Linked DNA regions of Homo sapiens: all the other regions are linked to region 1. The links are contacts of gene promoters, found by promoter capture Hi-C in blood cells and fetal thymus (Javierre and others, 2016). All regions are on one chromosome and are shown on one strand. The core of a region is centred on a gene start or on the middle of the fragment in contact, and the rest is flanking DNA. Distances in the headings are between cores, read along the strand shown. Region 1 holds the start of SNX20 (sorting nexin 20). Region 2 overlaps BRD7 (bromodomain containing 7). Region 3 has its middle 17 kb from the start of LINC02178.

What was found. Contacts are between HindIII fragments. The CHiCAGO score rates a contact against its expected background, and 5 or more counts as called.
Region 2: a contact is called between a fragment that was not itself captured here and the fragment with the promoter of SNX20 in region 1, in 8 of 17 cell types (activated CD4 T cells, total CD4 T cells, non-activated CD4 T cells and 5 more). The highest score is 13.3, in activated CD4 T cells.
Region 3: a fragment that was not itself captured here is called in contact with the fragment with the promoter of SNX20 in region 1 in 1 of 17 cell types (total CD4 T cells); the score reaches 5.6 in total CD4 T cells.

Annotation. Positions count from the first base shown.
Region 1 is chr16:50,679,569-50,682,753 of GRCh38, forward strand. It overlaps SNX20 (sorting nexin 20), which reads right to left and starts at 1,744. Exons shown (of 4, transcript NM_182854.4): 1 at 1,622-1,744. The HindIII fragment of the contact is 15,976 bases long and covers 1-3,185 here.
Region 2 is chr16:50,330,182-50,333,366 of GRCh38, forward strand. The region is part of intron 8 of BRD7 (bromodomain containing 7); the gene reads right to left. Among named protein-coding and RNA genes, the nearest start is that of BRD7, 37 kb to the right of the region's middle. The HindIII fragment of the contact is 6,524 bases long and covers 1-3,185 here.
Region 3 is chr16:50,410,174-50,413,358 of GRCh38, forward strand. No RefSeq gene overlaps it. Among named protein-coding and RNA genes, the nearest start is that of LINC02178, 17 kb to the left of the region's middle. The HindIII fragment of the contact is 4,017 bases long and covers 1-3,185 here.

The DNA of each region.
Region 1 (3,185 bases), core at 494-2,993:
ACGGGCACCTCTCGCTTGTCTCTTGTGCCTGTCAGGGAGTCAGGAGACATCGCCTTCCATCCTGACCAACCGTGTGTCCTTAAGCAAGTGCTTTAATATCTCTAGGCTTCAGTTTCCCTACCTGATAAATGTGGCTACAAGCCCCGTCCTGTTGATAAGATGATGGATGACTAGGGGTGGGTTCCCTACATTCTGACTGGTGCCTAAGTGAGACAGTGGATGGTTTACGTGATTCTTGGTGGCTGGGATTCTTGGGGGCCCAGGGCACTCCTATGCTCAGCACTTCTGTAAAATGGGTGATGGCGAGTGGCCTTGGCCTCAGGGGCCCCAGCCTTTGCAGATCTGCTTTCATGACCAGGCAGCTGGCTCCAGGTCAGAAGCAGGGCACTATTGGCCCAGAGACCCTGTAAGACCCTAGAAATGATGCCTCGGCTTGACACTCCAGTAAAGACTGAGAAAGCTGATTATAAAACCAGGCCTTAGAATAAAATCAAATTCAGCAGCCACAGTCAGCTCCCTTATGGTTGTCTCTTACAGGTTTCATTGGGAGTCACCCATTTAAAGAGGAGGGGGAAGGAAAGAGTTGTGCACTGGTGTATCCATGGGGCCTTGGGTAGCTTCCCATCCCTCTCCAGGCCTCAGTTTCCTCATCTGTGAAATGGGAAAGCAATCCTGTCACTCTAAAAGCTCTCTGGGGATAGCCACATAGACGGTTCCATGGCCCTTTCCTTCCCTCTCCTCACCCTCTGTAGCAAAGATTTCTTGACTTTATAACAAAATACTAAAAGTGTTGTTGCTGTTGGCCTGGGGGCCTGTAGTTGGCCCAGGGGACAGAGCAGCTTCCCAGCCTCCTCTGCCTTCCAGCCGTGTGTGCACAGACAGTCATTCTCCTCCTCCTGTCCCCAGGTGTCCTAACCACCCCCTCTCCAAGAGCTGACTGCCAAGTCCAGTCCTTCTTCTGCTGGGCACACAGAGGCCACACTATCTTTCTGAGGGCCTGCGGAGGACTTTTCATGGGGGATGAGCCTCTAGGGGGTGAAATAAAGCACATGGCCCACGCTGGGAGACAGAGATCCCAGGATGTTGGATGTGTGGCTGCCTCTCTTGGGGAAAGGGTGGGTACCCTCCAACAACTGGACGCTCACCTGAGAAGCCTTGCCAAAGCCAGGGGCTCCCAACCCAGTGTGTGTAAGAATCCCCTGGTGGGGTGGGGGTGGGATCCCAGGGGCTTGTCCAAGAGCAGGTTTCCTGGCTGCTAACATAGGAAGGTGCCATTGAACAGGCCTGGATTCTGCATTTTCCATGAGTCCTCTAAGGCTGTGCTGAGGCAGGGGTTCCCTGACACTGTTCTTTTGAGAAACACAGGTGTGGTGACTTATTCTCCAGGCCCAAGATGGGTTGTACAAGCGCCTAGCATTTCAAAAGGAATGGAGGTGATGGAAGGTCCAGGAGCTGTCCCTTCCTCTGCCTCAGTGTGCTAAGGAGAGCTCCAGACACAGTGGCTGTCACTAACTCTTCCCCCTCCCACCCTGCCCCCAGCAGGTGCCAGGCAGGGCCCCAGGAGAAGGGGACTCAGGCCACAGCAGGCAGAGGACAGCTGAGCTTGGGATCAAATACTGACCTCCAGTCTCCAGGGCTGTGTGTGTCCAGGGGTCCGGGAGGAGTGTCATATGGCCCCTTCGAGCTCTTGGTTCTCAGCTCCGGCGACAAGCCGAGGGGCTGCCACTTTCTAAGTTCCCCGTTTGAAAACAGGAAACAGGCTGTGTGACCTGCTTCTGATCGCCCCAGCCCATTGGCTGGTGAAACATGGTATATTGAACTCAACTGCCAGCCTGCCAGCTGTACCCACCTCTTCTTCCGGGTAGCGCAGGGAAGGGCAAGGCGGTGTGGGGCCAGCCCTGTGGGATTTAGCTCAGCCTCACTTTCCCTGCCGCCTTGCAGAGGTCTGGCTGTCCTTCGAGTCCCCGTTGATCTCTGGAATTCAGGCATTAGCTCCCAGAGCCCTTTAACATTCATTATTCTACTCTATGAGCTAGGCATGATGGGGGCCGTCATGCCCCTTGAACAGATGGGAAAACCGAGGCTTGGATCACAGAGCTGGTGGGACACAGAGCCAGTGACTGACATAGAAGAGCAGTGGGGTAGAATTACAGTTCCATCTGGTGCCTTTTCTCTGAGCAAAGCTGTATCCATCACCACCAACAGAAAGTCCCAGGGAAGCGAAACCCCAGGGCAGTGTGGTGTGATTCATGCCCACCCATCTTTGTGGCCTTGAAGGCAAGAAACAGAAATCAGACAAAAAAAAAAAAAATAGAACTTTGCTGGCTCGCCCAGAAGTTTGCCATGTGTTTTTTTTTGAGCCATGATTCCCTTCCTCCCTATTAGAGGCAGTCACAGTCCTGATTCAGATGGGGGTTACTTCTTGGCTTTTCCTTAGAAATTTACCACCTATGAGATCCCCAAACAATTCAGTTTCATTTTACTCATCTGTGAATCTTATATAAATTGAACCATGCATACTGTGTGTATTCTCCAGTGCCTTGCTTCTTTCATGCAACATTTATGGGTATAAGATTCACTGATGCATTTCTGTGTAGATACTTTTTTTCATTTCCATTGTTGTGTTGCTACATTATTATTATTATTTATTTTACTTTAAGTTCTGGGATACCAGTGTAGAACCTGCAGGTTTGTTACATAGGTATATATGTGCCGTGGTGGTTTGCTGTACCTATCAACCCATCATCTAGGTTTTAAGCCCTGCATGCATTAGGTATTTGTCTTAATGCTCTCCTTCCCCCTGGCCCCCACCCCTGACAGGCCCCAGCGTGTGATGTTCCCCTCCCTGTGTCCATGTGTTCTCACTGTTCAACTCCCACTTATGAGTGAGAACATGCTGTGTTTGGTTTTCTGTTGCTTCATTATTTAAATACATCACCATTTGTCATTTTTTGTTTTGTCTTTTGATGCACACTTGGGTTGTTCCTAGGGTGGCCATCATGATCAATGCCACTGATGATATTCTTACACATTTATCCAAGTCCATGTACTTATCTGAGGTGAAATTGCTGGGTCTCAGAGTATAGATAGCTTCAACTGTGCTAGATTACGCCAAATATTTTCCACAGTGGCTGTGCCATTTTGTATTCCCACCAGCAGTATATGAGAATTCCAGGTGCTCCACC
Region 2 (3,185 bases), core at 415-2,914, 350 kb before region 1:
GACCCAGGATTCAGTGATTTGGGGTGATCTAAAACCTGCCTTCCAGTAAGTATTAGGCCCTAAAAACTGCATGCTTTCTTGGCCCTGTTCCTTAAAGGGCTCCCTCTTGAAACCAGTAATCTAATAAGGAAACAAGTTAAGTTGAAAAGAGGACACTTTTTTTTTTTTTTTTTTTTTGAGACAGAGTCTCGCTCTGTTGCCCAGGCTAGAGTGCAGAGGTGCAATCTTGGCTCACTGCAACCTCCTTCTGGCAATCAACTTGTTTTCAGGTAATGGTGTTTAGGTATAGCTTCTGTGCCTCTGAGATGTAAATTTTCTACCTTGTTTCGTCTACTTTGTTATGACTTTGGAAATGACTGATAGTCTAAGAGGGGGAGAGAAAGTGAAAACTGGCAAATGAAGAATCTTATAAATCTACAAGATCTGCTTCTGTGTGTTTGTATGTCTATATATGTGTCATGTGTATGTGATGTATCACTACCAAAATATACGAAAGAGCTCTAATCAACTGACCAAAGAAAAGTAAGTGCTTAAATCAATTATTTTATTTAAAAAAAACAGAATTTCGCTCAAATGCCCTTTAGTTCACACAACTTTAGTAATCCTTGGTAAATAAAACTAGTTTCAAAATTCTCTTCAGTAATTTTAAATCTTAAAGTCATGTTATATTAAGTAATCTTAGGGTTTTCACTTGAAATTAGGGTTACTAAAAGTTAAAATAGTTAATATGTTATTAAAATTACTAGATATAAGAGAAACAATTCTATATACATAGTATATAAAGAAAAATGTATTTTTGGTAAAGATACAATATCAATTTACAAAAATCAGTAGCATTTCTATAAACCAATAATGTTCAAGCTGAGCACCAATTCAAGAATGCAATCCTATTCACAACAGCCACAGAAAAAATAAAATACCTAAGAATATATGTAAAGAGGTGAAAGATCTCTAGAAGAACTAAAAAACACTGCTGAAAGAAATCATATATGACACAAATGGAAAAACATCCCATGCTCATGGAATAATCAATATTGTTAAAACGTCCATACTGTCTAAAGCAATCTACAGATTCAATGCTATTCCTATCAAATTCCCAACATCATTCTTCACAGATTCAGAAAAAACTATTCTAAAATTCACATGGAACCAAAAAGGAGCCTGAAGTGCCAAAGCAATTCTAAGCAAAAAGAACAAAGTCAGAGGCATCACATTACCCAATTTCAAACTATACTACAGGCTGGGCACGGTGGCTCATGTCTGTAATCCTAGCACTTTGGGAGGCTGAGTTGGGTGGATTGCTTGAGTTCAGGAGTTTGAGACCTGCCTGGGCAATATGGTGAAACCTCATTTCTACAAAAAATACAAAAATTAGCCGGACATGGTGTCACGCACCTGTACTTTCAGCCACTTGGAAGGCTGAGGCAGGAGAATTGCTTGAGCTCCCAAGGTGGAGGCTGTAGTGAGCCAAGATTGTGCCACTGCACACTCCAGCCTGGGCGACAGAGTGACACCCTGTCTCAAAATCAAACCAAACCAAACAAAAGCTCCCATAAAACTACAAGGCTACAATAACCAAAACAGCATGATACTGATAAAAATAAACAAAATAACTCACAGACCAATGGAACAGAATAGAGAACCCAGAAATAAAGCCACATACATACAACCGACTGATCTTTGACAAAGTCGACAAAAATAAACAAAGTAGAAAGACCACTCAATAAATGGCGCTAAGAAAACTGGCTAACCATGTGCAGAAGAATGAAACTGAACTCCTATCTCTCACAATATACAAACATTAACTCCAAATGGATTAAACACTTAAATGTACGACCTCAAATTATAAAAATCCTAGAATAAAACCTTGGAAATACTCTTCTGGACATGGGCCTCGGCAAAGAATTTTCTATGTTCTCAAAAGCAAAAGTGACAAAAACAAAAATTCACAAGTGGGACCTAATTAAACTACAGAGCTTCTGAACAGCCAAAGAAACTATCAACAGAGTAAAGAAACATCCCGCAGAACGGGAGAAAATATGTGTGAACTACGCATCCAATAAAGGACTAACTACGCATCCAATAAAGGACTAATACCCAGTATCTATAAGGAACTTAAATCAACAAGAAACAAACAAATAGCCCCATTAAAAACTAGGCAAAGGACATGAACAGACACCACTCAAAAGAAGACATACAAGCAGCCAACAAACATATGAGAAAATGCTCAGCATCACTAATCATTGGAGAAATGCAAATCAAAACCACAATAAGATACCATATTATATCATTACTAAAAACTCAAAAAATAAGAGATGCTGGCAAGGTTGTGGAGAAAAGGGAATGCTCACTGTTGGTGAGAATGTAAATTAGTTCAGCTCCTGTGGAAAGCAGTTTGGAGATTTCCCAAAGAACTAAAAATAGAATTACAATTTGACCCAGCAATCCTAGGTATGTACCAAAGGAAAATAAATCATTTTACTCAAAAGACACATGCATTTGTATGTTTACTGCAGCACTGTGCACAACAAAGACACAGAATCAACCTAGGTGCCCACCAACAAAGGACTAGGTAAAGAAAATGCGGTACACACACACACCATGGAATACTACACAGCCATAAAAAAGAATCAAATCATGTCCCCTGCAACGACATGGATGAAGACGGAGGCCACTATCCTAAACAAATTAATGCAGAAACAGAAAAACAAATATTGCCATGTTCTCACTTAAAAGTAGGAGCTAAATACTGGTGCACACAGACACAAAGATGGGAAGAACAGACACTGGAAATGCTAAAAGGGGGCAGGGAGGGAAGGGGGCAAGGGTTCAGAAACTTCCTACTGGGTACTATGTTCACTATTTGGGTGATGGGTTCAAGAGAAGCTCAAATCTCAGCATCATGCAATATACCCACGTAACAAAATGGTGTATGTACCCCTTGAATCTAAAATTAAATAAAACCAACATGCTAAACAATATGATTTCAAAAGACCAGAATACAAATGTTTTCCTGTAAATTTAAATTCTGTAGTTCATGTTCCAATTTTAGAACATATTATAACTTCATTTTTTAAAAATCCAGTAAAAGAGGGTAAGATTAATCATGTACTTTACAAATGAACACAGATGGTCCTCAACTTACAATGGAGTTACATCCAACACGCCCACTGTAAGTTGAAAAT
Region 3 (3,185 bases), core at 498-2,997, 270 kb before region 1:
AATTAAAAGCAAGGTGTGGTCTTTGGGCCCTAGTTTAAGCAGATATCAATAAAAGACATTTTTGGAGCAAATGGGGATATGAATATGGACTTATTATTAGATGATATTTGGGAATTGTGTTGATTCTGTTAGACGTGATAATAACATTGTGGAAAATATCCTTATTTTTTGGCAATGCATGCTAAGTATTACTGTTATGTTGTCTAAAATTTACTTTCAAACGGTTCAGCAAAAAAATTTGAATTAAGCAAATATGTTAAATCTAGATGAAAGTTTACTCTTTTCCTATTCTATTCTATTTTTCAGTATATTTCAAGCATGTCTTCAAAACCTTAAAAATAGAAGTATTCCAGTACATACGAAAACCTTTAAATTTCTAAATAGTCTGGTCATACATAGCAAATATATGGGGCTGGTGACTGATTTGGGAAAAAACAGGCTATGCTATAAAATGCTGAGTTTATGGCCCCCACAGCGACAGTAACCTGAGGGAGGTGTGGGTGGTGGAGTCTGGGTGTGGTGGGCCATGGCTTTGCCACAGCTCATGAGACTCTCCATGCTGGTGGCCGGCAGCTCCTATGGGAGCCATTGCCGAGGTTTATGGTTGGGTTTACGAAATCCATTCAATACTTTGGCACTTGCACAAAAAATACATGTGTAAAGGTGAGTGTGCCCTTGGAAAATCTTTTTTTTTTTTTTTTTTTTAAACAAACCAACAAACAAGGCCACCAGGCCTATAAAATCCAGGTGAAGTCTACACATCGTGTCTCACCTCTCCCCTAGCCTCCTGATTTTACTGTCACTTCCCCTGAGGTTGAGGCCAACCATGGCTTGCCCTTAGATTCAGAAGCTGTGATCCTTGACCTTGACTGCTAAGAAAGGCATGTGCGACCTGGAACAAATTACTTGCCTCCTGGTACATTGGATTTCTCATCAGAAAACTGAGATGACAAAATCTCTCTTCAAGGTTTTGGGTTTTAGGTGAAATTCACATAACATAAGTTAACCATTTTAAAGCAAACAATTCAGTAGCACTTAGAACATTCACAAGGTTGTGCAATCATCACCACCCTCCATCTGTGGAATCTTTGCATCTTCCCAAACGGAAACTCTGTATCCATTAAACAATGACTCCCTATTTCCCTCTCAGTCTAGCCCCTGAAAAACCATCTTTCTACTTTCCATTTCTATGGAATTACTTACCCTGGCTATTTCCTATAAATGGAATAATATAATATATGATCTTTTTTGTGTTTGGCTTCTGTCTCTTAACATAATGCTTTCAAGGTTCACCTATGTTGTAGCATGTGTGAGTTCTTAGCTCCTTGTTATGGCTGAACAACATTACTTGTATAATACCACAATTTGCTTATCCATTTGCTTGTTAATGGACATTTGGGTTGTTTCCACCCCTTGACTATTGTGAATAGCAGTGCTATGAACATGCATATATAAGTACTTTTTTGAATCCTTGATTTCAATGTTGGGTGTGTATCTAAGAACGTAATAGATGTCATATAGTAATTCTATGTTTAACTTTTTGAAGAGCTGCCAAACTATTTTCCACAGTAACCAAAACATTTCACATTCCTGCCAGCAAAATTTGAGGGTTTCATATTCTCTACATCTTCACCAATACTTGTTATTTTCTATTTTTTTGAATGTAGCCATCCTAGTGGGTGTGAAGTGGTATCTCATTGTGGTTTTGACTTCCACTGCCCTAAAAATTAATGATGTTGAACATCCTTTCATGTGATTATTGGCCATTTGAATATCTTTTTTTTTTTTTTTTTGAGACAGAGTCTCTCTTTGTCACCCAGGCTGGAGTGCAGTGCCACAATCTCAGCTCACTGCAACCTCTGCCTCCCGGGTTCAAGCAATTCTTCTGCCTCAGCCTCCCAAGTAGCTGGAACTACAGGTGTGTACCACCATGCCTGGCTAATTTTTGTAAGTGCTGGGATTATATGCTTGAGCCACCACACCCAGATTCATTTGCATATCTTCTTTGAAGAAATGTCTATTCAAGTTCTTTGCCCTTTTTTTGAATTAGGTTGTTTGTTTTCTTGTGTGTTGAGTTCTAGGCATTCTTTATATATTCTAGATACTAATCCCTTATCAGATATATGATTTGCAAGAATTTCCTTCAATTTTGTGTGTTACCTTTTTACTCTCTCACTCTTTTTTTTCTTTTTGAGACAGGGTCTTGTTCTGTCACTCAGGCTAGAGTACAATGGCGTGATCATGGCTCACTGCAGCCTCGACCTCCTGGGCTCAAGAGATCCTCCTGCCTCAGCCTCCTGAGTAGTTGGGACTGTAGGCATGTGCCACCACACCCAGCTAATTTTTTTTTTTTTTAGAGATGGGGTCTCACTATGTTGCCCAGGCTGGTCTTGAATTCTTGGGCTCAAGTAGTCCTTCTACCTCAGCCTCCCAAACTGTTTGAGATTACAGGCGTGAGCCACCACACCTGGCACACTCTCTTGATAGTGTCTTTTGGTGCACAAAAGTTTTAAAAGTTGACAAAGTTCAATGTATGTATTTTTGTTGTTGTTTCCTTTACTTTTGGTGTCTTTTCTAAGACTCTATTGGCAAATACAAGGTCATGAGTATTTATCCCCATGTTTACCATGGGGATTACAATTAACATCCTAAATATATAAAAACTTAGTTGGAATTAATTCCTACTTAGTTTCAATAGCATACAAAAACTCTGTTCCTATGTACCTCAGTCCATTCCCTTTTAAAGTCATAAATTACATCTTTATACACTGTTTGCCTATTAATATAGAATTTTAATTGTTGTTTTAGGCATTTGTCTTATAAATAAGTTAGAAAACAAAAAGTGGAGTTAGAAACCAAAAATATAATTACACTGGCTTTTATATTTATCTATGTAATTATTTTTACCAGAATTCCCAATTTCTTCATATGAATTTGAGTTACTGTCTAGTGTCTTTTCAGCCAGAAAGGCTCCCTTTAGCATTTCTTTTAGGCCAAGTCTAGTAGTGACAAACTCTCTCAGCTTTTTTAAAATCTGGGAATGTTTTAATTTCTCCTTTTAAATTGCTTTTGTTTGATTGACTTTGTTTATTTTGATTGTGGTAAAATATAGGTAACAAAATTTACTGTTATGGCCGGCTGCAGTGGCTCACACCTGTAATCCCAGGACTTTGGGAGGCTGAGGC